Regions from separate parts of the Homo sapiens genome. Here region 2 is linked to region 1. Evidence: promoter capture Hi-C in human tissues and cell types (Jung and others, 2019). All regions are on one chromosome and are shown on one strand. Each heading gives the region's core, a stretch centred on a gene start or on the middle of the fragment in contact. The rest is flanking DNA. Distances are from core to core; before and after follow the strand shown. Region 1 holds the start of AP5Z1 (adaptor related protein complex 5 subunit zeta 1). Region 2 overlaps GNA12 (G protein subunit alpha 12).

Region 1 (2,715 bases), core at 194-2,693:
TTTGATCAGAGATTTTTGTCCTGTTCGGGCTTTAGAACTTAACCTGCCTTCAAGACCTCACTCACTATAATCACAGCAATTTCAACCACCCGAATCTTTCCCACCAATTGGTCTAGCTCTGAGTCCAGGTTTGCTTGTTTGTTTTGACATGGAGTCTCGTTCTGTCACCCAGACTGGAGTCCAGTGGTGCGATCTTGGCTCACTGCACCCTCGGCCTCCTGGGTTCATGCACTTCTCCTGCTTCGGCCTCTCACCTCACCAAGTTTGTTTACGTTTACCAAGGGGCTGTAGTGCTGGCTGTATTTTCTTTACTTTTTTTCTTTTTTCTTTTGAGACGGAGTTTCGCTCTGTCCCCCAGCCTGGAGTGCAGTGGCGCCATCTCAGCTCACTGTAACCTCCACCTCACAGGTTCAAGCAATCCTCCTGCCTCAGCCTCCCGAGTAGCTGGGATTACAGTCACCCACCACCACGCCCGGCTAATTTTTTTTTTTTTTTTTTTTTTTGTATTTTCAGTAGAGACGTGGTTTCCTCATGTTGGGCACGCTGGTCTCGAACTCCTGACCTCAGGTGATCCGCCTGCCTTGGCCTCCCAAAGTGGTGGGATTACAGGCGTGAGCCACCACGCCCGGTCAGCATTTTCTTCTTTTAAACATGTAGTATGAAGTCTTTGCCTGTTTGGTGGACCGTGAGTCTGTTCAGTCCTGGCTTACACTGTTTTCCCCCATGACTGGTTAGTTGGTGAGGAAGGAGCTACTCACTCGTTACTGGGAGTCCAGACACAGCCTGAAACCAGCCTGGAGGGTGATTTCTCAGCCTAGCTAATACATCCGCGCAAGAGAGATCTTTTTAAGTCACAAAACCCTCCCACGGTTCCGCAAAGCCCTCGGATGGCCTCCAGCTCCCCAGCCTGGCACACAGCCTTATTCCTTAGCAGGCCTCCGGACACTGTGACTTTGCGTTCTTGACTGTGAGGCACTGAAATCTCCCGGCTGCCCGATTTCCTGCCAGACGCGGAGTTCTCACCGCCAAGCCTTTGACTAAACTGTCGACTGGGTCCCACCCCACTTGCTTTCACTCACCAAGACTCTGCTCAAGTGTCACCTCCTCCGGGGACCCACCATGACCCTCCCCGACCTCCTCACCCCAAGCCTGGCCGCCGTGTTGCCTTACCCGATCCCCAAGTCTCGAGGGCGAGTCCAGTCGGGTTCCTGCAAGGCTGGCGCCCAAGCCCCTGCCCTGTGAGACCCACCCCCGTGTGCCCCTAGGGAGAGATGCAGGAAGGAGGGCCGGGGCCGCAGCTCCCCCGTACCTGGCCTGGTGGAGCAAACTCTCCGCTCCTGCCGAGAACATCACGCCGCCGCCACCAGACGCGCACGAACCTCGGAAACTCCAGGAGCTGCAGCCCAGGAGCTCCGCACCCCGGTCAACTTCCGGGACCGCGTCACGTGAGCGCAGCGGCCTTACGTGGCTGCGTCACGTGCCGCATCACATGAGCAGGAGGGACAGGTTGCCGACCAATGGGCTTTGGCGTGGAGCGACTGGGGCGGGGCGTAGGTGCCGCGGCCGGGGGTCCGGGTCGGCGCCTGGGAGCTGCGGAATCGCGCGACCCCGGAACCTCGGCACTCTGGAGCCCCGGCGCCCTTCGACCCCGGAAAGCATTTCGGCGGAAATTGGGCGCCTGGGGCTTTGGGAGAGGGCATTGCTGGCCCCAAAGTGTCACTGCCCCAGTTCTGGTTTCTGTTTCGTAAACAGCTTTGTCGTGCGGGAGTCCCTTTGCTAAGTACGACCTGAAAATCTGATGCAAACTCCGACACTTGTGGGCTGAGCCCAGCAGTGTCCAGCAGTTTGCAAGGAATAGCCGCGGCTCTGGGCAGTTTTGGGGATTTTTTGAGCTCCCATTTATTGAGCACCCATCCCGCGCTGTTCCTGCTGCTTGAAACGAAAAAATCCCTTATTCAATCCCCACGGTATTCATGGGATCTCGCGATCTCTGTTTTACAGATGAGGCCACAGGCTCGGAGAGGGGAAGTTTCTGTTCATTCTAACGGATGTGTTGGGTGCCCAAATGTGCTGGGCCCTGGCCATAAGTTTGCCATCCTGCAGACGGCCGAGGGACACAGGGCGACACGCCAGCGTCATGATAAACGCTATGACAGCCTGACCTGGTTGGGGGTCCAACCGGAGGAGGAAGGCTTCGGCGACTGCGGCCTAAGATGAGCCCAGAGGGTGTCCAGACCAAGGGGTGGGGAGGGACGGGCCTAGGGTAGCGATCTGCTTCCTATGGCTTAAATGCACCCCAGGAGGAAACTGATCTCTGGCCGCAGGGGAGATAATGGATTGGGAAGCTCCTGAGGGAGAAAGGAGGCTGGTGCAGTTGTGGTCCAGGTAAGGGAGGTTGCCCCGAAAGTAGGCAGATTCAGTACCATTTAGAGGTAGGATTTGCACCACCTGTGATTGAGGAATTTGCAGGCAGGAGGAAGAAAGTGGAAAAATCAAGGGTAACTTCATGTTTGTGGGGTGTCTGTCTGGGGCAGAAAAGGACGAGGAAATTTGTGCCAAGAGTCATTCATTAAGTGGACAAGCGATGATTGAGTCCTAGCTGCGCTAGGCACTGCTGAAGGTTCTGGGGAATAGGGTAGGGGTGGGAATCAATGTTGCGTAGATAGGGTGGGTCAAGGTTAGGCCTTGAAGGGATAAGCCCCGAGAAGACCCCTG
Region 2 (2,700 bases), core at 118-2,617, 2.0 Mb after region 1:
TGATTCCCCTGTGTCCCTAGGGCCTGGCACCATGGCAGCACATAGTAGGCATTTGAGTATTTGTTGGATGCATAAATAAATTCTTGTAATAAATACAGGAAAAAGGTCTTAGGGAACTTGAAAGCCAAATTTTAATATTGATGATCTTGTAAACAAAGTATTTTTCATGTTTTAGTAACATGAAGGTCAGGATTCCACTAAGCAGGAATATGGTGTAACCTCATGTTTCCTGGCAACTAGCCCTTTGCTACTAGACTTGCCACAGGAAGGGAAAGAGCTTACCTAGCATTGTTCATCACTGTCTTGCTAAGGTGGAGGAAAACGAGGAGCAGGGAGCTGAGAAAATAGAATAACTGCAGGAGTTTCTCTTGTCCATAGGGCACACCGTTTGGGGTGAATTGTTTTGCTTGGGGCCACCCAGTGAGTTCGTTTGGAGTTGCAAGCCTCGCTTCCTTATATAGAGTCATTGATACAATTGGGGAGTTTCCTGAGTGGATGATTAAAGCAGTTCTGTATTCATTCTTCTCTGTAAGTGCCAACACCTGGCCGTGATTTCTCTGCGGTCAGCTGGAGACTGACATCCATTTTCTCACAGTATTTACGAGGGAAGGGAACCCTGGTTGGTGAATTCATTCTCATGGTCTTTTTGCCCGAGTCAGCAGCAAGACAGTCACCTTGCCACGGGAGGCAGCGTGTCCCTGTGTTGAACAGGCGGAGAGTCTCCCCTCAGGATACAGCAGGAGTGATTGGAATGATTCTGTTTCTCAGCCTGTCTTGCAGAACATCTGTAATCTAAGCGTCATCACAAAAATTCTTAAGCCAAGAATAAGCAGAACATTAACCAGAGAATAATTGATTGGCATCTTTCACCTAGACAACATTTTTGTGAAATGGGAGTGATTCCTGTGGAGTTTTGTCCATGTTGATGAAAACATGGATGTAGGCCGGGCGCGGTGGCTCACGCCTGTAATCCTGGCACTTTGGGAGTCCAAGGCAGGAGGTTTCTTGAAGTCAGCAGTTCAAGACCAGCCTGAGCAACATAGTGAGATCCCATCTCTATCAGAAATTTTTAGAAATTAGCTGGCCATGGTGGTGCATGCCTGTAATCCCAGCTACATGGGAGTCTGAGGCAAGAGGATGGCTTGAGTCCAGGAGCTTGAAAGCTGCAGAGAGCTGTGATTGCACCACTGCATTCCAGCCTGGGTGACAGAGTGAGATCCTGTCTCTAAAGTAAAAAGTTTTAAAAGACACAGTTGGAGTTTCCTCTTTGGAAGATTACAGGGCAGAGGCCAGGGTGGTCAGTGAGTCAGGAGCTGGTGACTGGCCGGTGGGGCAGGTCTGGACAACAAGCAGCTGCCACACTGTGTGTCACTTCCGTGCTCTGTGCTTTACAGCGCTTGGGACTTTCTTTTTCAATTTTTTAGCTTTTTTAATTTTATTTTTTATTTTTTTGTAGCGATAGGTTTTGCATGTCTCCTGGGCTAGTTTCAAGCGATCCTCTCACCTCAGCCTCCCAAAGTGCTGGGATTACAGGCATGAGCCACCATGCCTGGCCTCAGCTTAAAAAAAAAAAAAAAAAAGCTTTATTGAGCTATAACTCACATATCATACCATGCCCTCATTTAAAGCCTACAATTCAGTGGACTTCAGTCTATTTACAGAGCTGTGCAGCCATCACCACAGTCAATTTTTAAAACATTTTCATCACCCCAGAAAGAAACCCTGCAGCCACTGCACATTTTCCTCCTGCCCCAGCCCCAGCCCCGGGCGGCCACCAGCCCACTTTCGACACCGTGGATTTCTCTCGACGCTGTTGATTTGCCTTTTCTGAACATTTTATGTAAATGGAATCATACAGTATGTTGTCTTCTGCGACGGACTTCTTAGCATCGTTTCTTCAAAGTTCATCCATGCTGTAGCGTGGCATCGTCATCCCTCTAAGCGGCCGAATAGCATTCCCTTTTGCTACGCCCCGTTTTGTTTATCCGTGCCTCAGTCAGTGGCATCTAGGTTCTTTCCATCTTTTGTGTGTTATGAATGATGTTGCTATAAACATCCATGTGCGGGTTTTGGTGTGAACATGTTTTCTCTTGGGTGTATTCCTAGGAGTGGAATTGCTGAGTCAAATGGTTGCTTTATGTTTAACATTTTGACGAGCTACCCGAGTGTTTCTGAATTGGCCGCAACATTTCTGTTCCCACCAATATAACGTCTTTGGGGTCTAACCGTGCTTGTGTTTATCTGTCCTTTGAATTCCAGCCATCCCGTTTTCGGTTTGCCTTTCCTCGATGGTGAATGAGGTATAGCATCTTTTCATGTGCTTATGGGCCATTTGCGTATCTTCTTTGGAGATATGGCTATACAGATCCTTTGCCCATTTTTTTAATTTGGATTATTTGTCTTTTATGCAGACTAGGGAATTTCTTAAGGGGACTGCTTTTGGTTATTGTGTTTCTCACTTATAAACTCACCTTTCAGTAATGAGTCACATACACCTCCACAGCTGTTTTGGTTTTCTGTTGCCACTGTAACAAATTACCACAGGCTTCGGGACTTAAAACATTTATTTGTTAGCTCCTAGTTGCTTGGGTCAGAGGTCTGGGCACAGTGTGGCTCAGTTGGTTGCCCTGAGTGTCATGAGACTAACAGGAAGGTTCCAGCCGGACTGTGTTCCTTTTTGGAGGCTCTGGGAATGCATCG

What was found. Contacts are between HindIII fragments. The study calls those that stand out against the background at their distance.
Region 2: a fragment that was not itself captured here is called in contact with the fragment with the promoter of AP5Z1 in region 1 in 1 of the 25 tissues and cell types used here (spleen).

Annotation. Positions count from the first base shown.
Region 1 is chr7:4,774,351-4,777,065 of GRCh38, reverse strand. It overlaps AP5Z1 (adaptor related protein complex 5 subunit zeta 1), which reads right to left and starts at 1,443. Exons shown (of 17, transcript NM_014855.3): 1 at 1,310-1,443. The coding sequence starts at 1,350. RefSeq lists enhancers at 765-874, 895-954, 1,295-1,364, 1,795-1,884, 1,925-1,974 and 2 more and a silencer at 1,485-1,614. The HindIII fragment of the contact is 20,755 bases long and covers 1-2,715 here.
Region 2 is chr7:2,819,282-2,821,981 of GRCh38, reverse strand. The region is part of intron 1 of GNA12 (G protein subunit alpha 12); the gene reads left to right. Among named protein-coding and RNA genes, the nearest start is that of GNA12, 24 kb to the left of the region's middle. RefSeq lists enhancers at 1-285, 286-975. The HindIII fragment of the contact is 6,363 bases long and covers 1-2,700 here.